7 separate regions of the Homo sapiens genome follow, and all the other regions are linked to region 1. Evidence: promoter capture Hi-C in 16 types of primary human blood cells and fetal thymus (Javierre and others, 2016). All regions are on one chromosome and are shown on one strand. Each heading gives the region's core, a stretch centred on a gene start or on the middle of the fragment in contact. The rest is flanking DNA. Distances are from core to core; before and after follow the strand shown. Region 1 holds the start of SPAG16 (sperm associated antigen 16). Region 2 overlaps XRCC5 (X-ray repair cross complementing 5). Region 3 overlaps XRCC5 (X-ray repair cross complementing 5). Region 4 overlaps XRCC5 (X-ray repair cross complementing 5). Region 5 overlaps XRCC5 (X-ray repair cross complementing 5). Region 6 overlaps LANCL1 (LanC like glutathione S-transferase 1). Region 7 overlaps TMEM169 (transmembrane protein 169).

Region 1 (3,493 bases), core at 365-2,864:
TTTCATTGCTGAAAGTTGTGTTATGTTAGACTCCTACCATTTATTTCACAAAGATGTTTGCAAAAAGTTACCTCATTGTGTCAATCTCATGTTAACAATTAAACTATGTGTTCACGGAAATAATTTTAATGCAAACAAAATTACAAGATGCCTGGTTACCATTCAGTAGCAAGGGCACTGGATATAGATAAGCTTAGGAAGAATTATGAAAATCGTTGTTAAAGAGGAATATCACTGGAAAAGACTGCCTGTTACATCTACGAAAACAGTATAAAACCTCATTTATGACACTAAAGCACCCATATATTTCTTTCAAATTCATTTCAAGCGATTCAAATTTCTATTCCTGTAAAAGTCGTTTTTGCACCCAATAAAATACTACATATTTTCTTTAATCTTTCAGCTAAATTCTTCAAAGCTCTCTGTAGTGTGGATGTGTACTGAGCCTGAGTCAGGACAGGTTAATCGGCTTGTCAAAGCTCACGAAATGAATCATTGCTGGATTTCTGAAATCTTGAATTAAACCTGGAGAGGATTACAGTTGGACAAACAAATAAGATTTGGCAGATTTTGGAGTTTCCTTGGTATCTTTAAGAACTGAACAGATAATCATCTCTTTCTTACCTCCCTGAATAAAGGAGTTACATGTCTTTTTCTCATGAACCCTCCCCGTCTCCCTAGTAGGAATTAATCTATATAACTAGAGGAAAGAAGTTCTAAAGCCTTACACAAGAAATAGTGGACCTAATTATCCACACATTGTTATTCAATTTTTCTGGTACTTCCGATAAAAATCGCTAATCACCATCTGCTTTATTCCTAATATCTCTGAGCTGTGTAGCTCACCAGATCATTATTTATTTGCTCAAGAAAAAAAAGCAACTATACTATTAGTATTTATTATTAAGTAGTCAAACTTGGAACTACTCAGGAAGATAATGCTATCAAAACTAAGCATTTAAGCATTAACTGGACCATCGAACAGGATCGTGGGTTGGGTATTCTGAGCTTCAGCTCCTTAAAGTCCAATGGCAGAGGTCTTTCCCTAGTCTCCTAACGTTCCTCCGTTGAATTTATTGGGACGGCTTTCTGAAAGATTGAGGGCTTATTTAGGAAACCCATTATTTGAAAGGAGGGTTGAAGCAATTTGTTGTGCTGTCTTAACATAAAAAGCAACCCTCCATCCAAAATGTACTGAGTGGTTACTAAGTATGAGGCCTTGGAAGGTCTCCCAACTCTTCTAACAGGTACAGGACACCCTGGGCTACTAAGGGCGAGAAATTCAGTGAGTGGCTCTCAGGAAGACTGTGGTGGCAAAAACAGCACCTTGAAGTCCAACAGAGGCTCCTCCGGAGTGGCCCCAAGGCTCAAAAGGCGCCGCCAGTGGGAGGCCCTCGCCTTCGTCCCAACACCCATTACCCGCCAGCGCAGCGGGCCGCGCCTCCACGGGAAGGATACGTTCCAGGTAGTAGGCGCCCTCAGCCGCCACCGCGTCCGCCGTGTCCCTCGCGTCCCCGGCTGCCGTCAAACCCATGCCCAACGCCTCTTCCAGGACCCTCACGGCGGAGCTGGGCATCCCTCGCTGAGCAGCCATCTCTGGCGCTTCGGGCCCCCACCCCCAGCAGGCCCACAGCCGTCCCTAAGGGCAACAGCGAAGACGCTACCCAACGGCCCCCGGGAGCTCTCGCGAGATTCCGGCATCTCTCACCCCGCCCCACGGACCAGCCCCGGGCACGTAAGGGTTACCGGGAGTCCAGGGAGCTGTCGCCCTCCCGCGCCTCCCAGTTACCGTGGCAACGATGTTGCCTAGTTAACGCGAGAGCTCGGGCGCAGCTCTGGGAGCGGACAAGATACAGTAAACAATTGGCTTGCATTGCACCTTCCTACCCAAGCAGCTTGGTTTTCTTTCGCTTTGACCCTGTAATTTCTTTCCCACTTCGTTGTCGTCTCTGAATTACCTTTCTCTTGATTCTTGCCCATTAGCATCCTCCAATTTCAGATGTTTGTAGATCCCCAAGTGTTCCCAGGGAAAACTACTAGAAAAGGTGAGTTCTCAACACCTGGAATTTTTTAAAAAATGAAAAAATAAAGTTCTAGAAATCATAATAGAAAGACTGACCCAGGGGAGCTACCAGACGCTCCTCAGATGCTTAGCAATGAAGAACTATGGTGTTCAGCTTTGTCAATTCCTTTCTTGTGATCTTTAATGCATTTAGCTGGACATCTGTTTTGAGTTTGGTTCCATATACTAAGACTTGGAATAGTATTTGTAGCATTGATTCTCGCCAAGGTAAAAACAGTTGCATAAAAATTATGAGCTACAAATTTGGTCCTGACAAATGTATGCAGTTGACACTTGCCCCATCATGTATAGTCTTATTGCTGAGAGGATCTTCCTCAGGTTATATCGCGTATGTATCAGAAGCAAATTCAAGGCCCTTTTCTTTGCAAATATTTTTTTTTCCCTTAACTTTTATTTTAGGTTCAGGGGTACAAGTGCAGGTAAGCTCATGTCGCAGGGGTTTGGTATATAACTTATTTCGTCACCCAGGTACTAAGTGTAGTACCCAATAGTTATTTTTTCTGATCTTCTCCCTCCTCCCACTCTCCTCCTCAAGTAGGCCCCAGTGTCTGTTGTTCCTTCTTTGTGTCCATTTGTTCTCATTATTTAGCTCCCACTTACAACTAAGAACATGCAGTATTTGGTTTTCTGTTCCTGCATTAGTTTGCTAAGGATAATGGCCTCCAGCTGCATTCATGTCCCTGAGAGGACATGATCTCATTCTTCTGTGGCTGCATAGTATTCCATGGTATATGTGTACCACATTTTCTTTATCCAGTCCGTTGATGGGCATTTAGGTTGAATCCATGTCTTTATCATGAATATCAATGAACACGCATGTACATGTGTTTTTATGGTAGAACAATTTCTGTTTCTTTGGGTATATACCCAGTAATGGGATTGCTAGGGCAAATGGTATTATTTTTCATTCTACATTTCTTGGTGAAAACTGGAAGCCAGTGATCCTATAAAAGCTCCCATTTATTACCAAAAGGTAGCAGTAACTTCCTAAGGAGGTGTTTGAGAGTACGTGTGTCAGAGCCAGAGAGACAGCTTTCAGAGCCTGCTTCCATCACTTACTAGCTATGACACATTGGGCAAACTACTACTTAATGCCTCTAGGCCCCAGTTTCATCATTTGTAGAACAAAGACAACAATATTACCTACCTCAAAGTGCTGTTGCAAGGGGTAAAGCAACAAAAAGCATTAAGAACTTACTGGGAACATAGAAGACACTAAGAAATGTTAGCTGTTATTTCTATTAAATGTGTTTGATATTGTTTTATTTTTTAGAATAATCAAGGGTCACAGATATAATAGTCGGGTAATTCATTCCTGGTACCTATTCTTTTACTACCCTACTCTTTGTCCTTGACTTCTCACATCAGACATTTCCTGAGTACTCATTAAATGCAAGGAACAATTACAGG
Region 2 (3,493 bases), core at 571-3,070, 2.9 Mb before region 1:
CTTTAACTATCTAACCAGAAACTATATGTCATCCTCTGTTGGGGTTACTTTAAATGAGCACCTGTATGTCAAGTTTGATGCAAGTGTGTATAGTATTGAGAGGATGTCCTAGAAGCCCAAAGTAAAGCACTCCTTTCTCTCCTCAGCTAAATGAATGATGTTCTATCTTGCAGATCCATTTTCAATCAATGGATAAGGGTGTTCAATTCTCAGCAGAGCACTGAAGAAGTCTTTTGCAGACAATAATTAGCAGCAATTCACAGAGAGATGAGTCATTTATGCCTTTAATGTTACATGTACAAAACTGTGTATTAGTGACGACTTATGAGGGTGCTGAAGACAGAGGTGACTGGGTACCAAGAAGTCTGTACACCAAAGAGGAACTGGAACTCAAGGCAAGAATGAGGACAAGAAAAAAAGAGAATAAGGGCTTTGTTATTTTCTTATTTAGTAAAGGAGACACCATCCACAAAGATGAAAGCTGACTTAGGTAGAAATGGGAAAGACCGAAAAGTTACCTAAGTGTTTTAATATAACGAAACTTTCTCTCTTTGAGGCTTGCAAGTAGAGAACAGTGAAGTGATATAATTCTAACTACTGTAGTAAATTTCTCAGTTTTTGAGTTTCTAAAGGTTCACTGATATGGCAGAGATTGGGCCAAAAGGTCTTTTCTTCATGAGACCACCACCATAACTCACTGCTTAAAAGGAGTATGAAGGGAAATTGTGCTCCCCTTCCCACCCCACTTAAAGAAAACCACCTATATACAGAGGCAGAGTAATGTGGTAACTAGAAGGCCTCAACTAAAAAGAGAAGTGAGTCCGTCCTTACCCATGGTTTTCCTAACCCAGCTGCTTGTTGGGAGGAAGCAAATGCTACTGCTTGCTCAACACAAGTTGTGACAGCTGTTGGAGGATCAGGCAAAGGAGGACTCTGGAAAGGGTTAAGAAACTCATCAATAACCATGCCATGGTTCCACATGAGACACTAATCACATCACAAGGGCTGCAACTGTCACTGATATACTAGGTCAAGAAAAGATCTACTTTCCAGAAACTTCAAAGCATGTATGTAATATACAAAGATCAGTAAGACCACAGAAAAAATAATACACCAACCAGAAAATAACAATGACTCTTTATAAACTTGTATGGGGTCTAAATTATCCCTTGTAATATATATGTGTGTATTCATTCCACAGAGAATTAGATGATCCGCCTCCAGGTAACCTGCTGGGAATTTCTTGAGATTTTGGCTCCCCTTGAATGGCCGCATCCAACTTGTTTTGTTAGAACTCCCAGCATCACAGCGATGGCAGCTCTCTTAGATTCCCCATACATCCACGACCTATATCATGTCCAACTGTGAACAAGAACAACACACTTAGAAAGGAATCAGGCCAATTTCATACCACTGCTTCTCTGGTGAGAGAGGGTTTAATGAAAATGACTCTACATTGGAAGGCATGCATGTACTTGCTCATTTATTCACCGCTCATTATTTTAGGAGTTAAACATTCAAGTATCCACTCATTTTAGTAATGAGAATGTCTCTAAAAAAGATTGACATCATAGTACGTAGTGTTTGTTGGTCAGTTGTCATATGAAGCTTAAAGGCGGGAAGTTTCCAAACATTAAGGATAGATACAAAAGACATTTACTACACAGCTTCCCAGACATCAACAACATGGTGTAATGGGGTCCAGAAATCCTCAAATGCCTATCGGTCTATTTTGTTTACATTAAGTTAATTGAGAACATTTAAGAAGTAGCCCTTTTAAGGGCTGTTTCATTTGTCAACCCACACAAACTGCATGTTGTATTACTTATTTTTGGTTAACAGCAATTTCAGTGAATTACAACATTTTGCTACTAATGGAATAGCCTCCCTAGCTCTTTTTCAGCCCTTCAAGGGAGAGGATTAATCTGAATGAACAATATAGCCGACACCATGAAACACAGGAATTTCTATTATGAAATTACCTATCTGATTGAATTTATAATGGCAATATATAATGGTGTAGGAAGCTTCTGGTGTATTGGAAATTAAAACACAAATAAGCAACAAGTGTAAGATAATCAGCCTTTGTGGCTGTATTTACAGCTCAGGTGACTTCAATCATAGAACACCAGGTGCATATTAAAAGTACTTACTAAATCGTCCACATCACCACCTTCTTCAAATACAGCTGCTGTGTCTCCACTTGGTTTGTCTTTGGGGGCCAGAAACTGTAAATAGAAAGTCAGTTATCATACCAAAATGATATTTTTGCCCCTTTGAAAGAGGGAACAATCTGCTAGCATTGCCACAGCAAAACCTAAGGCAGCCTGCTTAGCAGTCTCACTGCCAACGGCCCAAAAGAAACATCATCCTGGCATACGCTACTTCATTTGGCTTTGGGTGAGAGGCCCAGTTTTGAGGTTCAAGTAGTCCATACTAACTCATCACCAGAGAAAGTGCTCACGAAGAGGGAGGAAAGAACATGGCTTGTCGAGACAGTGTGTAGTGTCCTGTATAAGCATGGTGGACATCTGCTGTTTCCAGTTCTGCTTCCATAGGAAATAAGCTGGCTTGCTAAGGTTAAGAAAATAACCAACCACCCCAAACTAGTATGCTCTTTTGAAAGGAGCATGAGAATCAAATCAAGATTAGAATAATCTCAAGTTGAATGATGAAGAATCAGGAAAAAAAAAAAAAAAAAGCTTAGAATAATCTACTCTTAAATTCCACTGTGGACAAAAGCAGTAAAAGGGGGACTTCTCATAAGAAACGTGAAATGCAAAAATGAGTGAGCTTGGAAGGTTGTTTGATTCCTTTTATGGAAATCTTTCAATTTGTGTTAGAAATTGTTTGAAAACAGGCAGATGAGAAATGGATGAGAAAACCATTCAGCATCACTGTTCTAGATCTGGAGCTTCTGAAAGGCAGATACATAGTAATACAGCAAAGTCCAGGAAGTGAAGTCTGTGAGGATCTAGGAATGACACTCAGATTTTAAAAGGGTAGTGAGGTGAGTGCCCTTGAAAATTATCTGAACACTCTTTTTCCATCCTGTCCCTCCAAGGGATAGCAGTGGGGAGCCTTTTCCTTCAAGGCATGTGGCAGCTGCCTCTAAGAGCTGGGTTCTAGCAATGCATATCTATCTAGCAATGCCTATCTATCCTAACACGAGAAGGTGATTTTCTGGTAGCATGCCTGCCTGTAGGAGTGAGTGTTTTAGAGAGGGCAGTGGAAAGTGGGGCACTTCTACTTTTCCTTTGGGGGCCAGAAACAGTAAATAGAGAATCAGTTATGGTACCACAACTGACTGGCCCCTAGAGGCATTCTGGCATTCTTCAGGCTGAGAGTGCATGGAGCAGGCACGCGGTGAGAGAGCCTTCCAGCCCACTTATGCTCTCCTGTAGTTGCTTCCACCCAAGAGGAAAAAGTATAATTATACTTTCCTCACTCTCAACATGAAAAAATGGTAAGAGCTGCCATTCTCTACATTCCT
Region 3 (3,493 bases), core at 649-3,148, 2.9 Mb before region 1:
AGAAAGCAAAGGCCAGGTCTTCAGTACAATAAAAAGCCAACTTTCAGGGATAAAACACCCTACCTACTCATCTTTATCCCATCTCAGAAATGACAGTGATAGTAACATGAATTTAAGTCATTTTTAGCTCCACTGGCATACACTGCTATTCATATTGAGAATGATAATTTCCACGGCCCAGACTCATTTCCAGGATGCTGTATGCCTCTTTCCCTGTGATAGTCGCCAACTGTTTAGGAAGAAAAGAGATGCTAGGATAGCATTACCTTAATGGCTTCTTCCCGGAAGGCTCGGATGCAGTCTATGCTCTTCATAAAATACGGTGTTTCATTAGTATCCAAAAACTGTTCGATGTGATTTATGAGCTGGTTACTCGCTAAAACATAAGACAACAAATTTTCTTAGATTTGAGTGATGCCTGAGAGAGGGTATGCTTCTGTGTTTGTGCCTATAAGTATGTATTATAGTTCACAAGCCTCATGGTCAGCAAGCACAATTGCCATACTTCTTTTAGGGGAGAGATGAGATGCAAAATTCTGATTTCAAAACTCTGTATTTGCAAAGTCTGAATGATACCTATTGATATTTGTCAAGAAATTAATTTCTAAAATGCTGAGAATTATAGTTGAAATATTCCTTTTTGGGATGTCAGAACCTAGGTTGTAGTTATTTTTAAAACTGCTGTTGTTGTTATTTTATTTTCCCCCAGAATTTAGGGGCCATTTGGATAATTCAAAACTGCCTTTCCTATTGTATTCACAGAAAACAGATCCTCTAGTCCCTCCCCTAATTCTACTCAGGATAATTGTCGAACAGTGCTGGGCAGTGAAAAATAATGAGCCAGGGACACCCCATCTTCTACCAATCCAAGGTTAAATTAGAAAAGATCAGCCCTAGTCTTAACAAAATATCCCTTTCGAATGAGAAATCATTGCTATCTACCTTATGCCCTTAGCTGGACCTGAATATTCTCCCTATTGCTCACTACTCCAAAAGCCACAAATACTTAATAAACAGTAACTGTCAGCAAGCAATGTCATAAATGCTACAGAAAGAGAAAATGCATTCATAGTGTTATCATTTCCAAAGTAGATTACACCTTACAAAGAAACAAAAAATTCTTCAGTATGAATAAAAAGCAGAGGAAAAAGGAAATCTAAAAGTCATGAGGAAACTTAATGCTGTGCAGATCAAAACTGACCCTTAAGATCTGTGTGTGGAAGAACAAATCAGGGAGATGTGGGTAATCATGCCTAAAGGCTCCTCTCCCTTGTCCCCTGAAACCATTCACTAGCTGTGGCTGTTTGGCAATTTATGCTGAATGTTCAAGATATTCTATGACTGCCTGTTTCCCCAAATCACAGCCTCCTGTGAGCATTCTAGCAGCTACCTGTGTATGCACAATGCTAAAGAAAACTACTTTCAAGCTTTACCAATAAAGGCCCCAGGCCACTAACTCTGTGAATCACAGTGACCTGAACATTACTCAATGCCTTCCTTATTAAAAACATGAAATCGGTGCTAAGAATCTACTTATTTCCTAAGGACCATACAGCATGTGGAAAGGATTAAAAAACTGGATGAAGTATTTTTTAATACAGCAATTTTCTAACAAGGGAAAAATATCCCCAGTAACCGTTTCATCCCTTCTACCAACTCGGAGATTATGATCTCCATTATAAGAAAGCACTTAACAAACTTGAGGGATTAAAGAAACATTTCCCTGCAATTTCAAAAATCTTTACCAACGTATCCCGCAGCAGTGAATTAATATCCAATTACAATTCAAAATAGAGAGAGAATGTTCAGATGAACCTTTTTAAACAAGGTAAATAATACAACCCTGATTAGTAGGCAGAGCAGAAAACCATCAACAAAAGCTCAAAGCAAACAGAAGTTATCTCCCCTTTTCAGCTTGAAAAGCAAAGTAACAGAAATGTTTGATAACAGAAAGCGGTGTACTTTCCCAGATCATCTGATACAAAGTTCACTCGAGGTTACATATTTGGGCACAAATAAAAACCTTTACAGGCCAAGGGCAATAATCCTAGAGACTCTAAATTCTCCATTTCTTTTGAAATGAGAATAGGAAATCTTAGGAAGCTATAATATAAATGTTTCTCTTTGTTTGATAGTATATACTTATTGTGCAACTACTATGTAGAAGATACTATGTTATGTTCTGTGGGAGACAGAATTAAGTTGAAGACAAGGCCCTTGCCTTTGAGGAGTTTGCAGTTGAATAGGGAATATAATGCATATACATAAAATTAACACTGGGAAATAATGTGAAGAGGGCTATGAGTTTTAAGGAAATATATTAATTGGTTTGAATTTTTAAAAAATCTTTGGTGATTACAGAAAGCTTCACAAATCAACATGGCTTTTTAGCTAGGCAATGAAAAACAGAATTTGGCAATTACACAGCAGGAAACACAATTAGCCTAAGTATGAAGAAGAAAGCACAAGCTGTGTTTGGAGAAAAGCAAATGGCCTCATACATGGACAGAAATAGGGGAAGAAAAAAGAGTGAGGATTAGACAGCAAATGGCTGGAGGAAAGGGAGTTCCAAGAAGAGAAAGTGTGTGTGAGAGTCCTGAGGTAGGGGTACAGCGTGGCTCCTTAGAAAGTGTAGAAGAAAGAAGAAATTTTAGCGGTTGGATAGTGGAAAGGGAGCTGAAGAAGGAGGCTAAGAAGGATTAGTCAGAGAGAGAGAGAGGGAGAGACAGGGAGACGGGGAGAGAGAGAGAGAGAGAGAGAGAGAGAGAGAGAGAGAGAGTGTGTGTGTGTGTGTGTGTGTGTGTGTGTGTGTGTCAGGAGTTCATGGCATCACAGATACTAAGAGAAGAGATTATTTAAAGGAAAGAGTTGTCTGCTGTGTCCAAACTACTGCATAAAGACTACACGGAAAAGAGTAAAAAGAGCATAGGCAATTAAGGATAGAAACGTAGGGAATCCTAAGAGCTGGGAGCCCATGAAACAACTACACAGGTACTAAATTGCTTTGCGAAAAAACAAAGCAAAACAAAAAACCAAAACAACCAGCTTCCTGACTCATTTTATCCTGAAATATGATAGAACACACACACACACACACACACACACACACACACACACACACACACACACACACAGTTGCTATCTTACAGAGAAAAATATTCAAAAGAAACAAAAATAAATACCCAAGCCAACAATCCATTTGCAACGATACAGGAAAGAAGGCAGTCCAGTCTACCATAAATTCTTTGTAAAAGGAAGTAGCAGGAGTCTCAATACCCAGTTTCTTTGTAAAAAAAAAAATGAAGTCCTAATGTATCTGTGGGCCTATGTGGATTTAGTTTTTCTTATTTACATGTTAGACTGTTGTGCTCTTTCCTCCAGAGGGTTCAGAAACACAGATGGATAAACATATCCAAACTTCCAATAAACCCAAAGAATACAAACAACCAGATTTTGGCCTTCTAGGAATACTCAGTTACGTGGCTTGTAAATC
Region 4 (3,493 bases), core at 546-3,045, 2.9 Mb before region 1:
GTCTCATAAGATTATAATGAAACTGAAAAATTCTTATCGCCTTGTGACATCAGGGCTGTCATGACATCATAGCGCAAAGCATTACGTTTTCTTTTATTTTTCTTTTTTAATTAAGATGGAGTCTCGCTCTGTTGCCCAGGCTGGAGTGCAGTGGCATGATCTCAGCTCACTGCAACCTCTGCCTCCCAGGTTCAAGAGATTCTCCTGTCTCAGCCTCACAAGTAGCTGGGACTATAGGCACACACCACCACGCCCAGTTCATTTTTGTATTTTTAGTAGAGATGGGGATTCTCTACTAAAAATGTTGGCCAGACTGTCTCGAACTCCTGACCTCGGTTATCTGCCCACCTCAGCCTCCCTAGGCATCTATCATTAGATACGTTTATATATGCAAATACCTCTTTGTTACAAATGCCTACAGTATTCAGTATAGTAACACACTGCACGGGTTTGTACCTTGAGGACAAAAGGCCATACCACATAGCCTAGATGTGTAGTAGATTCTACCATGTGGGCTCGTGTAAGTACACTCTGTGACATTCGCACAACGAAATTGCCTAATGACACGGTTCTCAGAATGTATCCCTGTCGTTAAGTGAAGGATGTCAGTTGCTCAAAGTGCTTTAATATCTTTGTTCATTGTTATAGTATCTCTTGAGATTTTTCTTTAGGTGAAGAAAATCTCATAAAGGTAAAATTATTTCACCAAAATCATATCAAGTGAAAAAACTGGAATGATTCCCAGCTCTTAAGATGATTAAACTTCCTGAACAGACATTTGTCCACTCCTGATCTTAGCCCCTCTCCCCTCCACTAGAAATATGTACCCTGGATCCAGAGATGATGAATATATACAAAAACATTGCGAATTGTTGGCAATTTTTTCTTTCCTTGGAAAAACTACCTCTAGAACTGACTGGAGCTTTATCATCAAAATTGAGGGGTTTTAGAACCTTGTAGAAAGGACTGAACCATTCTTCTTGAATACAGGTGGTACTCAATATTTGCTAAATGAATCATTTCCACAATTCTTAAAAACTAAGCTTTCTCAGAAGAGAGAGAGAATAGGAGCGTGAGCAAGCGTGTGTGAGTAAGATACTTCTCAGGCCCCTGCAAGATTAACTTAGCTATGCTGCGAGCCATTATGGGAGCAAAGAACAAGAAGCTCAGCACACCCAAGCTTCCAGAAGAGTGCCCAGCAGGACCAGAGCCAAAGGTGTGATCATAGCAGGGATCAAACGACAGAACTGCATCCTTCTGGGTCTGGGTGGTGTGCTTTTTTAACTAGCTAATTTACATTTTAATCAAAGGGAAGAGCAGAAAATGGCCCATTTCTTTCCCACAACACCAGAAGGTAATCAAGATCACGGACTGGAGATTTAACACACAGAGAGAGAATAGCCCTGTGATTGCAGTGAGACTTCAGCAAGGTGTCATAGAAAGAAAAGGCTGCAGACTTTTATTGAACTGTTTTAAAATACAAATCCAGAAGGTAGATAAGGATAGCAGGGGGAAAGTGAATTTTTAGGGACAGTCTTCTTGTGTAGAACGATAGACTAAACAGAAATGAAAACCTCTCCAGGATGTGTAAGAAATGCACATCATAAAATCTATCAAGAAACAATCTATCAATTTCCTTGAGAGATGGTCTTATGGGGGGCGGGCAGTTGGTGCGGCGGAACCAAGTACATGATTTTTTTTTTCAATTCTGACAAAGCTTGGATGTTAACCTTTAGAAAGTCACAGAATGTGCACAACTTTCTATTCAATTTAGACAGTAATTCTCTAAATCAATGATTTATAGAAACCTGTGAAGACTTCCGGAAATTACTCAATACTTCTCCACTGGGGTATTTATAAATAAGAAGCTTTGTCAATAAAGATAGTTGTGGAGAGAAAAATCAAATAAAAAAGGGGAAAAGATTCATGGTTTAAAATCAGATTTCAAAATACAGCCAAAAGAAATGTATAGATTATTCCAGCTTGAGAAAAAAAAGTCACCAATAACTGGTTGACCTAAACCTGGTAAAAATCAATTTTACATACTCAAATAATTCTGGATAAGCAACAACAATTTCTTCTTGTTTTATTTTTGTTTTGTTTTGAATGGAAGCTGACACAGATTGTGAACAGAAGAGGGAAAAAACTTAATAGCCAGTTGTAAGCTTGATTTAAGTGTATATGAAAAGCATTTTGCAATACTTAAAACTACAAACACCTCCCCAATAGCACAACCAAATACATCACTGATACACTAATAGAACGGCTGAAGAATTGATAGTTTTTCACTCTTGTTCCCACTTTTCCTCCAAAAATCTCATTGACATCCCCAACATCTAATCTCCTCCCAACCCAAAAAACCTATGATCTTCAACACACTCATTCTCAGTACTTTACTTTAAAAAGGGTGACATTTAGCCTTAGATATTCAGAAACTTATCTGAATTATACATTATATATAATTCACCAAGAATCTGATGCTGATCAAAAAGTCATCAGCCCAGAAGGTAGCTCTAAATCCAAAGTGAACAGCAAGGATAAAATATGATCACAGCAGACAGATATAAGAAATCAATATTTCAATATAAGGGCCAAATAGCAAAAGGCTTCTTCCTCTCACCTTTTAAATTCCATAGACCCCTATGTGACACTTCCAGAGCCACTCTAAAATGACCACAACTCTTATGTACCCCAATGTTAAATGCAACTATACCAAGTACTTACTTGTCTTGGAAAATTTCCTGAGCAGTCACTTGATCCTTTTTCTTGGCTTCAATCAGAGGAAAAAGGGTCTTTATTTTAGAGAGAGGAATCTGACTTTTTGTTGTCACCTCAGCGGGAGGATTCAGCATATTCCAAATATGCTGCTGAATTGGGGGTAGAGGCTCCCGGGGATGTAAAGCTCTGTGCAGCAGACACTGTTGGAAAAAGTAAGGATTTTAAAACACAGATGGAGACATATATGGCTTCTTTATATTTTCTGATCAGGGATCCTCCATCTTTAGTGTGGGAGGGCTAAGTGATTCATACCACATGTAAAAAACAATCAAGAGGATTCACCTAGAACCACCTTTGTTGGCAGGATATTGGTCAATACCTAAAACCAATTGTAAAAATAGATCCAAGCCTAGCAACAGTATCTTCTGCTCTGGACCTCCTGGAAAGGAGCCTCACCTTATAAATCAAAGCTGTTGTTTTTACTACTTGGGGAATATACAAGATTCCCTAAAATACCTGATTCTAAGACCTGATAATCTGGGATTATAACTTTCTTGTTATAATCCTTTTATCTCTCTTAATCATGCTGTGCTTTCTCCCTCACTTAATCTCAGAGAATGCCATGTGGTGGATGAAACAGGTGGCTACAGGGAAGCTGCCCATGCTCAGTGAGTCCCAGAGAGAGGTCTGCAAAAGAGATGAGAATACTGAGTTGTCCCTGAGTGCTGAGTTTGCACTTTTCAGCACAAGTCCATCCACCTTTCTCTCTCCCCAC
Region 5 (3,493 bases), core at 493-2,992, 2.8 Mb before region 1:
TGGAATTACAAGCATAAGCCACCGTGTCCAGCCTAATTTTTCTTTGTGATATCATGGGTAATATGTTTAGCTTAAGGCATTTATTCCAAAATTTGAAAGAGAAACAACTTAGGAACACATATCTGTAAATATTGTGACAAGAACACATTACGCCAAGAAACTTCACCTCACAGGATTCCTCACTGATTCCTAGGGCAATCCCGTGGGCAATTCTGTTTCCTAAATTTACCTATCATTTTTCAAGGCTGTCTGTATTTAGAAAATCAGAACATAATTTTTGTCAATTATAGCTCATCAGAAATATTAAAAATGGTCGTTTAGAAAAAATATTAAGGAGATATACACTGTAGCTACTTAAAAAAATTCTAGTTGTTCAATCACTACTTCAATGTGCTTAAACAGCCAGTATTTTGTGTACAGACTGATAAGCTGGAAATAATTCAAGAATATCAAGCAGTATTACCCCTGAGAATTTGAACCACCCAAGCCATACTGCTATGTAAAGTACTCTATTGCCACTTTTACCAAATTGAACCCCATAGGACACACACTATTCTAGATGCCACCGATTCTTCTTAGGTTCTTTGCTCAAAATGCATGTATGTCCAATTCCAACCAAGAATAAGATGGATAAAGGAGATGGTCTCTTCCATAGTCTCTAGCTGGATGGTTGAAAAAGCAGTTTGCTTTATTGTTATACGGTACTTCAAGGAATTCACTTTTCTTAAATCATTTTGCCTTTCCAACGCCCACGTAAAGTAAGTAGGCTATGAACTCTTTACATTGCAGGTTTTTTTTTTTTTCACTCAATCAAACTGCTTTGTGATCAAAAGTTTAAAAAAAAAATCACTATACCATAGTATGCTACTTTCTAAAACCTTAATAGGATGATAAGAAGATACTGACTATCTCAGATCTGAGACCACTTTCTATAATTAATAATGTTTTTTGTAGATGTGTAAAAAAAAAAGGGCCCAAAAAATGTATCCCAAGCTTGGCATAATGAAGAAATCTACTATTTCATCTTTTGCAATTTGACTTGTTAATTTCTCATGGTATCTATATATTCCTGAACTTCACTGACACAGGTCCTGGAAATAAATGAGAAACATGTGCCAAGAACACAAACTTTAAAAAGGGTGATTAAGGGTGGGTGTACTATTTCTTTAATAAAACTCAGAATATTAAGCAATGACTAATTAGAGAGTGGCCCAGAAAAAGGAAACATTTGGGAGACCTCTAATCAAAAGAGAAATTTACGTGGGTACAATTAAAAATTCCCATCAATGTTTTCAATTCTTACCTGAATGAATAAATTTCATCCAACCCATCTTCACCTTCTAAAGATATCATCACCATTTTCACTATCTCAAGACCTTCTTTTTGCTGTTCGGTAATTCCTTTTAGTGGAAAGGAAGGCCCATGGCCACCTAAGCGAAAGGGGCCATCTCCTCTGTCCCCACTTCCATCTTCCTTGCCAAGTGAGAAAGGCAAGCTATTAAGAAAGATCAACAGTAGTTAGTGTTCTAATCCTGTAACTGTAACTCATCAGCTATGAGAAAATGAGCACATCAGTCAACCTTTTCAAGTTTCAAATTTCTCATCTGTCAAACGACTCTTACCTACCTTAGCCAATATTCTCCCAGTTTCAAGTGACTGAAACCTCTTTGGTTTGTAAAAGGGGAAAATCACTGGCTACTACATAACCAAGTAACTGAAAGGGCAGGGTGGCACAAGGCCTTAGGAAGTCCAGACCCAGGGTCTCAACTGTGGCAAGGATTACTCTCTCTGTCTCTATTTTACCTTCATTTGCCTTTATGCTGGCTTCACTCTCTCCGACTGGCCTCTTCCACACTGTAATGGTCTACACGTGTCCCCCAAAATCATTATTTTGAAACCTAATCACCAATATGATACTATTAAGACAGAGGCCCTTTAGGAGGTAATGAAGTCCTGAGGGTGGGGAACTCATAAATGGAATTAGCGACCTTAAAAAAAATGGTTGAAGGGAGAGGCTTTTTGCCATTTTTGCCTTTTATGTCCTTCCACCACGTGAGAACAGTGTTAGCCCTTTTGACATGGGATGACACAGCAATAAGGCACCATCTTGAGAGCAAAGATCTCTCAGCAGACACCAAATCTGTTAGTGCTGTGATCTTGGACTTCCCGGCCTCCAGAACTGTGAGAAATAAATTTGTTTTTAAGGTGATTTCTCATTTTATTTGCTACACTTAAAATAAGGCTGTTTACAATTTTTCTTCATATACTTAGCAAATACAGCATGATGTAATTTGCATGTCCTGCATTTATCAGGTAAAAAGTTTCCAGGGAGGAAAGTGTGAGACACAGGGTTTGCATCAGGTTACTCCTGTTTTCAAAGCAATAACCAGAAAAGGACAAATGTCGTAAAAGTGAAGAGAAAGGAAGTTATCCTGGAAAAAGAAATAATAACTGTTCTGTCTATTCTGCGTTAGATCAGAAATAAGCTTCCTCAGTAGTCAGTAGAAGAAACTAAAAACTGTGCCAGGCACAGTGGCTCACGCCTGTAATCCCAGCACTTTGGGAGGGCGAGGCAGGTGGATCACTTGAGGTCCGGAGTTCAAGACCAGCCTGGCCAACATGGTAAAACCCCATCTCTACTAAAAATACAAATATTAGCCGGGCGTGGTGGCACACACCTGAAATCCCAGCTACTAGGGAGGCTGAGATAGGAGAACTGCTTGAGCCTGGGAGGCGGAGGTTGCAGTGAGCCGAGATTGCACCACTGCACTCCAGCCTGGGCAACAGTGCGAGACTCCATCTCAAAAACAAACAACAACCAAGAAAAACTAAAAACTGCTGGGTGTGGTAACATGCATCTATAGTCTCAGCTATACAGAAGGCTCCGGTAGGAGGTTCACTTGAACCCAAGAGTTTTAGGCTGCAGTGAGCTATAACTATGCCACTACAGAAGACGTTTCTAAAAAAAAAAATTAAAAATAAATTAAAAACAGAACACAGGGCTTCTCTGAGCTGCTGGTATTTTTTTAGTCCAATTACAACAATCAGCTGTACATGGAATACACCAAACAGTAAAACTATGAACTCTACTTTGTATGCTGGAGGTTTGTAGCACAGGAAGAAAGCATATTACCAAGAAAAAAATACAACCAAATAAAAAGCAAATAGAAGCAAAGGCTATGCTTCCTCTTCTGCACTTTTCTGTATTGCTCATGGAAAAAAAGAGTAGCTCTTTCGAATGACATTCACTGAAATGCAGTCTGCTTCTAACATGTAAAGGCATCCTGAGATTATGAAAAAGGACCAGAAGCTGTGCTGGGCTTCTGAAGTACTGAGAAAAACCTCAACTCAGTAAGAAGTGTCACTTAAAAGCACTTAATTTCTCTGAAGTACCATCTTAACAAGTATTGGTTTGATGGGTTATTCTGAACTCTTTTTCCACAGTCGTACAGAAAGGAGATGTCGCTCTGTAGTCTTAAGAGAAGACTACTCA
Region 6 (3,493 bases), core at 516-3,015, 2.8 Mb after region 1:
CTCACCCTGAGCCCAGGCTGGAGTGCAGAGGCACAGTCTTGGCTCACTGCAACTTCTGCCTCCCAGGCCCAAGTGACTCTCATGCCCCAGCCTCCTGAGTAGCTGGGATTACAGGTGCACACCACCGCACCTGGCTAATTTTTTTTTTTTTTTGTATTTTTAGTAGAGGCAGGGTTTCACCATGTTGGCCAGGCTGGTGTCGAACTCCTGACCTCAAGTGATCCACCCATCTCAGCCTCCCAAAGTGCCGGGATTACAGGTGTGAGCCACCATGTCGGGCCAAATTTAACCCTTTGTTTCTAAGGGGAAAAATTCACAAATTTAAACCCTGACCCAAGAGTAATAATGTAGTTTATTGCCTAACGTAGTTTTTGGACAGGTCCTAGAAAGGAAGTAGCATACCAGTTCTAAAATTGTGTAATGTTGAACACGGAGGATCAAACCCTGGAGATCTGTCCTCCTTAATTTCTTAACACAAGATTTCAGTAAGGAACTGGTCTGTTTTCTGGCATCTGTCAGAAAAAAATAGAAAAGAAAAAAGGACTTTTAGAGACTTCAGATTATAGCTAGAGTTTGAATGATTTGGTGGTGTACCACAAGCAATCAATATTCTCACAGAGGTCACCTTTATTAAATGCAGAATGTGCCAAACAGAAAGTAACTTCCCTTCATAAGGCTGAGAGATTCTCATTATTCTTGATCTCTTGAAGGCCAGGCAAGATGATAAATTATATATGATCTATATACAGTAGATGACGTGTTCTCAATATAGATGCACTCTTCTATCTAGCTGAGATTTATAGGCCTTTTGTATTAACATTGAAGTATATTTTATCCTACTAAATGTATTTTCAAGTCTAGTTGAAATCTTAACCTCTTTGCAGAAATTGTTAAATAATGGGAGTGTGTCTGTCAAACAACGTCGTTTCTTCTAAAGAGTGAAATAAGGGATCATAGTGGTGCTTTAGATTAAATAATCCAGATGTGGTTGAAAGTCTGATTTGCCTTATCAAGGATGCTCCTCCGAAGTGAATCTTAACGTATCCTTAAACTATTGTTGTTGTTGTTAATTCTGATACTGCCTTCTTGCTGTTTTCAGTGTTAAGATTTTATCTCATTTTTAAAAATGAGATTCTGATGTGAGTGGTTAGGTTTATTTCTACAATCCTTACATGGTAAAATAAAATGTTTATACCCTTGTAACTTTCCCCCACATTGTTCTGAAATTTTAATTACTATGTGAAATTCAAGTCTTAGAATCACAGCAAGTTCTTAAAATTATTGAGGGAGACAATAAAGTGAGTTTTTTGGGTTTTTGTTGTTGTTGTTGTTGTTGTTTGAGATGGAGTTTCGCTCTTGTTGCCCAGGCTGGAGTGCAGTGGCACGATCTCGGCTCACCACAACCTCCATCTCCCAGGTTCAAGGAATTCTCCTGCCTCAGGCTTCCGAATAGCTGGGATTACAGGCGTTCACCACCATGCCCGACTAATTTTGTATTTTTAGTAGAGATGGGGTTTCTCCATGTTGGTCAGACTGGTCTCGAACTCCTAACCTCAGGTTATCCGCCCACCTCGGCCTCCCAAAATGCTAGGATTACAGGCATTAGCCACTGTGCCCGGCCTTCAGTGACTTTTTAAGACACTGATTCAGTGTGTGCAGAAGTTTAAAATTATTTTTCATTTGCCTTTAAGAAGAATAACGTAATGATTGTGTGAGCCTCACTGTTTGCACAGCATCTGTGGACCTTCATATGGGTGGTACTAACCCCACAGCCCCAGCCTTAGTGTATTTTCAATCCATATCTAAACTATTACTTGCCTTAGACCCTTGATCTGCTAAAGAATTAGTAAAAATGTCAACATTTACATCCCTGAATGAGAAAGACTTGTGATACACTATCTCATTTAATCCCCAAAGTACCTTTTGAAATTGGCGTGGCAGTTATTATTATCCTGACTTTATGGAGGTATTTGAAACATAAAGAAGTTATGAGTTGAGCAAGATCAGCTAATAGCGGGTAAGGATGTAGACAGGCTCATTCATTGAGAAACATTTGTGAAGCCCGTATTCTCTGCCAGACACTGTGCTGGACGTGGGTTTATGATGCTAAGTTTGATATTCTTTCTATTCTGCTTAAGGCTCTTGATATACATGAATTTGTTTTGCTTTTCTTTGGCTACTTCATTTTTTTTAAATCCTTTTTTTTAAATAAGAGCAATTAGATGTTTCTTTAGGGAATTTACCTTGCTGCAGCTTGAATACTAAAAATCCAGTAGTTTGAAAGCACCAAACATCTGATTTGTGCTTAATTTAATAAAAAGACTTTATTATAATATTGGTTTAAATAATAGACGATTACTATTAGGTGGAAAATTACTGTGAGCCAGTTTATCATTGGCAGTCTGTTTTAGTATTTAACTAAAAATTTTATTTAAAACATGTATAAGTTACAACGGTATTTTATAAATTTTGTTAATGTGATGTTGTTGTTTAAGAATAGAAAATAAATTGTTTAGTCTTCCAGGTGGAAAAATATGTCCTAAGTGGAAAAGAAATACCTTTCTGTCTTTGATAGCTTATAGTCCAGCAAGCTGGGTGACCCACATTATTTTGATACTTGTTTTCCTTTAATATCTAGCTGACTCCTGAGTTCTCACAACGCTTGACCAATAAGATTCGGGAGCTTCTTCAGCAAATGGAGAGAGGCCTGAAATCAGCAGACCCTCGGGATGGCACCGGTTACACTGGCTGGGCAGGTATGAAGTGCTGACTGTGAGCTGGCATAAGCATTGTGCTTAAGAGCCAGAGCATTTTTCCGAGAGCTGTCTGTCTGAATGGTACACCCTTAAATGCTTCCTGCATCTGCATATGAGTAATTGCTTCTGGGAGAGTGCTGTGCCCTCAACCCAACCAACCATGGTATCTTCTGGGTTTTTAATAGTGCCCTGAATTTAGGGCATGGTAAGCATATTCATGTAATTCATGCCTGACATTTGGATGGCTGCTATACTTGTGAGGAGAAAAATTGATTTTCAATATTACATAGTTAATTTGCAGATGTAATTTCAGTGGGAAGAATTGGGAAGAGTTCCAAAATACAATGCCTGAAGCGGAGGTAATGAGGATTGATCTCAGGAATAAAATATGTCCAGAAGCATGTTTTAAAAAGTTAACCCGTAACAGGAATCCATACAGGAATCCATACAGGGTAAAGTATTACTTCCATGAACTAATCCTCCCATATGGTCATTGCTGTTTGGTTTGCAATTGCTGCATTGCCAATCTCAATCATTGAGAGGCTGGAGGAGGTTTAGGAAGAAACAGTGCATTGATGTCAAAAAAAGGTGAGAAAGAGAAAAATCAAAGAAGAGGCTGGGCGCAGTGGCTCACACCTGTAATCCCAGCACTTTGGGAGGCCGAGGCGGGTGGATCACGAGGTCAAGAGATCAAGACCATCCTGGCCAACACTGTGCAACCCCATCTTTACTAAAAC
Region 7 (3,493 bases), core at 664-3,163, 2.8 Mb before region 1:
CATACCACCCACGCCTATCCACACACACACCACACATTACACACACACACCATACGACACACACAAACAGCGCACACACCCCCACATACACCACACCCACACCGCACACCACACATACACACACACACACACACACAACGCACCCACACAGAACCAAATAGCTATCTGCTGGCCACCCTAGAAGTCTGGGTGGGGATGGGAAAATACAGCCTTTAGGCAGGCATGGACCTTGGGCCCTGTGGACTCCTTGCCCCACAACTGAGAGATAAGATGAAGCCACCTAAAGAGCAGGGCCCTGGATAGTGGCAGGGACTCTGTTTACCCAGAGAAAAGGAATGTGCAGTCTCCCAAGCCCTGTCTTTTCACAGTCTTCATCACAGCAAACACCACCACCATCTATCCTCCCTGTCATTCCAGTCAATCACCCAGGAGTCATTATTGATTCCTCTCTTTCCCTCACTCCCTGCCTCTGATCAATCAGCAAGTTCAGATTGCATCCTGAATCCAGCTTCTCTTCTCCAGCTTTCTCCTGCTATCACCCGAACTTCTCCATTAGTGCTACTGAGGCTGCAGGGACACAATAGTCTCCCATCAGCATCCAGTCTTAACCCTTATAATTCATTCTTTATAGAGAAGCCAGAGTGATCTTTTACAAATATAAACAAGATGATGTCTCTTTGCTTAAAAGTCCTCCATTGACTTCCTCTTGCACTTGAAACAAATATCAAACTCTTTACCGAGACCTGCAAGGGCCACCATGATCCAGCCTCTGCCTACCTTCCTGTCCTCCTCTCACCATCCTCCCTCTTATCTCCTACACTCCCTACACTGAAATAACTCCTTTCCATAAATGGGCCAAAGCTGCTCTCACCTCAGAGGCTTTGCCCTTGCTGTTCCACCTCCTCCAAAAACTCTGCCCTAGAACTTTTCATGGTGGCTCCCTCATGTCATTTGGATCAATTCAAATGTCACCTCCTCAGAGAAGCCTTTCACAACCATGCAGTCTCTCCCCCACCACCTTCCACCCTCCACCAGTACTCATCTTCCCATCAGCATGGTTTTGTCATCTTTAGAACTCATACTACTACCTGAAAGTATCTTTTATTTGTTGACTTGTTCACTATCTGTCTTTCCCTGAAGGTCAACTGCAGGAGAGCAGAGAAATTGCTTATCTTGTTCACTGTGAGCATATGTCTTAGAGATCTATCCATCTACACAAATAGATCTGCCTCATCTCTCTACGGCTGCACAATAATAATAATTATTATTATTTTTTCGAGATGTTGTCTTGCTCTGTCACCCAGGCTGGAGTGCAGTGGCAGGATTTCGACTTGCTGCAACCTCTGCATTCTAGAAACACAGATTCTCCACCTCCCAGGTTAAAGCAATTCTTGTGCCTCGGCCTTTGAAGTAGCTGGGACCTCAGGCATGCCCCAGCACACCCTGCTAATTTTTGTATTTTTAGTAGAGACGGGGTTTCACCATGTTGGCCAGTCTCAAACTCCTGTTGTTGGTCTCAAAGTCCTGACCCCACGTGATCTGCCTGCCTTGGCCTCACAAAGTGCTGGGATTATAGGTGTGAGCCACCGTGCCCAGCCTCCACAATAATTCTTAATACAAACACATCATGGTTGCATTAGCTTCAACAAATGTTCTTATATATGCCTCCTTATACAAGGATAACATGGGCATAAGTTTCATGGAGTAGATATTGAGAATTTCTGGGTCATGAGGTATGCATGTTTTGAACTGTGAATTTTACTAAATATTTAATAAACGTTGACAAGTTTCCTCCACAAAGTGGTTGAAGCGGCTTCCACTTTCACTAAGGTGCATGAAGTATATCCATTTGCTCATATTGATGTAATCACATTTTACCCAATTTTTGGCAAGCCTACATGTGAAGGAATACTATATCTCATTGTTGTCATAATTTGCCATATGATTTTCTTCTGGCAAATTTTCTCATAATTTTCTTTATTCATATGAAAGTCAACAATTATTGTTTATTTTACATACATTAAGTAGTTAGCATAGTCTGCTTGTGTTACCAGTTTTTGCGTATAAATCAGCCTCTTCCATTTCATTAGGAATTCTGAAAGGGTGGAGATTTCTGTATCATCTAGAAAAAAATGTAATAGGTGCTCAGTAAATACTGACCATTTGTTGAATGAAGACTGTAATATTGCACCAGGTCAGTGGCTCATGCCTATAATCCCAGCACTTTGGGAGGCTGAGGCAGGTGGATCACTTGAGGCCAGGAGTTCGAGACCAACCTGGACAACATGGTGAAACCCAGTCTCTACTAAAAATACAAAAACTAGCCCGGCATGGTGGCACATGCCTGTAGTCCCAGCTACTCAGGAGGCTGAGGCAGGAAAGTCACTTGAACCCAGAAGGTGGAAGTTGCAGTGAGGCGACATCATGCCACTGCACTCCAGCCTGGGTGACAGAACAAGACTCTGTCTCAAAATAAATAAATAAAAGGTGGTAATATTGCAAGAAGAAATGTATCACCAAGAAGAAATAGGACAGTGAGCATATGCCTGTCTGTTCTGGAAGATGCCCTTTTGGTTTCCTTCCCATGGCTTTAAACAAGTGGGCTAGAGAGACTTACCATCATCCACAGGATAGTCTAGGAAATCATCTCCCTCCTCCTCTTTAGGCTGATCTCCACCTTCTGATTCTCCGGGCTCCTCATCTGTTTTCTCATTGTCTGAGCGGTAGATGATGATGGATTCTGGGCGTGACTCTTTCCTCTTCTTTTTCCTGTGCCCCATTGTGGATTCCCCATCCAGCGCCAGGGCAGCAGCCACAGCCTTCCTGAGAGAGCCCTGGTGGGGGCTTGGAAGCTGGACCTGGCCTTCTACTGCTGTTGGCTCTTCCATTCCAGACCTGACGTCTACCTATGTCTTATAAAGAGTTGGACTTGTTTGAGTAAACTCACAGTTCACACATCACAGAACTTCTTCCTAGATGGGGCTATGCAAAGATGTCCCAAGGATGCATTCCACCTGAAAGATAGGAAAGCAAAGCCATCAACAGGAAGCAAATGGGGTGAGATGGACAGGAATGTGGGAAACGATCCTCAACTTAGCAGAAGCCTTCCTCTCCCTTTACTTCTTGCAATACTTTATTTTGGGAATGCAATCTAAATCTCTTATAATAGACAGTGAATAAACTTTTGCTACAGTAATATTTTTGTCATTTATACAAACATATAATATTTGGCAAAACCCATGTGAAGGAATACTATATCTCATTGTTGTCATAATTTGCATTTTCCTTATTCATATGAAAGTCAACAATTATTGTTTCTTTATTTTATATACATAAGTAGTTAGCATAGTCTGCTTGTGTTACCGATTTTTGTGTATAAATCAGCCTCTAGTTGGAGCATGCAGAGTATAAGGAAGTTGGGTGAGGAAGCCTTACCAGTAGGTGAGAGTTAAGAACCACAGGTAGGCTGGGCACAGTGGTTCACGCATATAAT

The links. Contacts are between HindIII fragments. The CHiCAGO score rates a contact against its expected background, and 5 or more counts as called.
Region 2: a contact is called between a fragment that was not itself captured here and the fragment with the promoter of SPAG16 in region 1, in 2 of 17 cell types (total CD8 T cells and total CD4 T cells). The highest score is 6.3, in total CD8 T cells.
Region 3: a fragment that was not itself captured here is called in contact with the fragment with the promoter of SPAG16 in region 1 in 3 of 17 cell types (naive CD8 T cells, naive CD4 T cells and activated CD4 T cells); the score reaches 8.0 in naive CD8 T cells.
Region 4: a contact is called between a fragment that was not itself captured here and the fragment with the promoter of SPAG16 in region 1, in 3 of 17 cell types (naive CD8 T cells, total CD4 T cells and naive CD4 T cells). The highest score is 12.9, in naive CD8 T cells.
Region 5: a contact is called between a fragment that was not itself captured here and the fragment with the promoter of SPAG16 in region 1, in 6 of 17 cell types (naive CD4 T cells, total CD8 T cells, non-activated CD4 T cells and 3 more). The highest score is 15.5, in naive CD4 T cells.
Region 6: a contact is called between a fragment that was not itself captured here and the fragment with the promoter of SPAG16 in region 1, in 1 of 17 cell types (naive CD8 T cells). The highest score is 6.7, in naive CD8 T cells.
Region 7: a fragment that was not itself captured here is called in contact with the fragment with the promoter of SPAG16 in region 1 in 2 of 17 cell types (total CD8 T cells and naive CD8 T cells); the score reaches 6.7 in total CD8 T cells.

Annotation. Positions count from the first base shown.
Region 1 is chr2:213,282,585-213,286,077 of GRCh38, reverse strand. SPAG16 (sperm associated antigen 16) reads right to left here and starts at 1,614. Exons shown (of 16, transcript NM_024532.5): 1 at 1,459-1,614. The coding sequence starts at 1,594. SPAG16-DT (SPAG16 divergent transcript) reads left to right here and starts at 1,869. Exons shown (of 3, transcript NR_161186.1): 1 at 1,869-2,045. RefSeq lists enhancers at 1,212-1,291, 1,362-1,411, 1,452-1,581. The HindIII fragment of the contact is 3,357 bases long and covers 195-3,493 here.
Region 2 is chr2:216,203,057-216,206,549 of GRCh38, reverse strand. XRCC5 (X-ray repair cross complementing 5) reads right to left here. Exons shown (of 21, transcript NM_021141.4): 20 at 2,154-2,228; 21 at 257-1,362. The coding sequence ends at 1,348. Among named protein-coding and RNA genes, the nearest start is that of LINC01963, 12 kb to the left of the region's middle. The HindIII fragment of the contact is 419 bases long and covers 1,611-2,029 here.
Region 3 is chr2:216,187,108-216,190,600 of GRCh38, reverse strand. XRCC5 (X-ray repair cross complementing 5) reads right to left here. Exons shown (of 21, transcript NM_021141.4): 17 at 267-376. Among named protein-coding and RNA genes, the nearest start is that of LINC01963, 28 kb to the left of the region's middle. The HindIII fragment of the contact is 938 bases long and covers 1,430-2,367 here.
Region 4 is chr2:216,147,508-216,151,000 of GRCh38, reverse strand. XRCC5 (X-ray repair cross complementing 5) reads right to left here. Exons shown (of 21, transcript NM_021141.4): 14 at 2,725-2,918. Among named protein-coding and RNA genes, the nearest start is that of XRCC5, 40 kb to the right of the region's middle. The HindIII fragment of the contact is 151 bases long and covers 1,720-1,870 here.
Region 5 is chr2:216,120,064-216,123,556 of GRCh38, reverse strand. It overlaps XRCC5 (X-ray repair cross complementing 5), which reads right to left. Exons shown (of 21, transcript NM_021141.4): 6 at 1,304-1,495. Among named protein-coding and RNA genes, the nearest start is that of XRCC5, 12 kb to the right of the region's middle. The HindIII fragment of the contact is 1,493 bases long and covers 996-2,488 here.
Region 6 is chr2:210,471,222-210,474,714 of GRCh38, reverse strand. LANCL1 (LanC like glutathione S-transferase 1) reads left to right here. Exons shown (of 10, transcript NM_006055.3): 3 at 2,639-2,756. Among named protein-coding and RNA genes, the nearest start is that of LANCL1, 3.8 kb to the left of the region's middle. The HindIII fragment of the contact is 4,098 bases long and covers 1-3,493 here.
Region 7 is chr2:216,095,359-216,098,851 of GRCh38, reverse strand. TMEM169 (transmembrane protein 169) reads right to left here. Exons shown (of 3, transcript NM_001142311.2): 2 at 2,618-3,014. The coding sequence starts at 2,888. Among named protein-coding and RNA genes, the nearest start is that of XRCC5, 12 kb to the left of the region's middle. The HindIII fragment of the contact is 5,460 bases long and covers 1-3,493 here.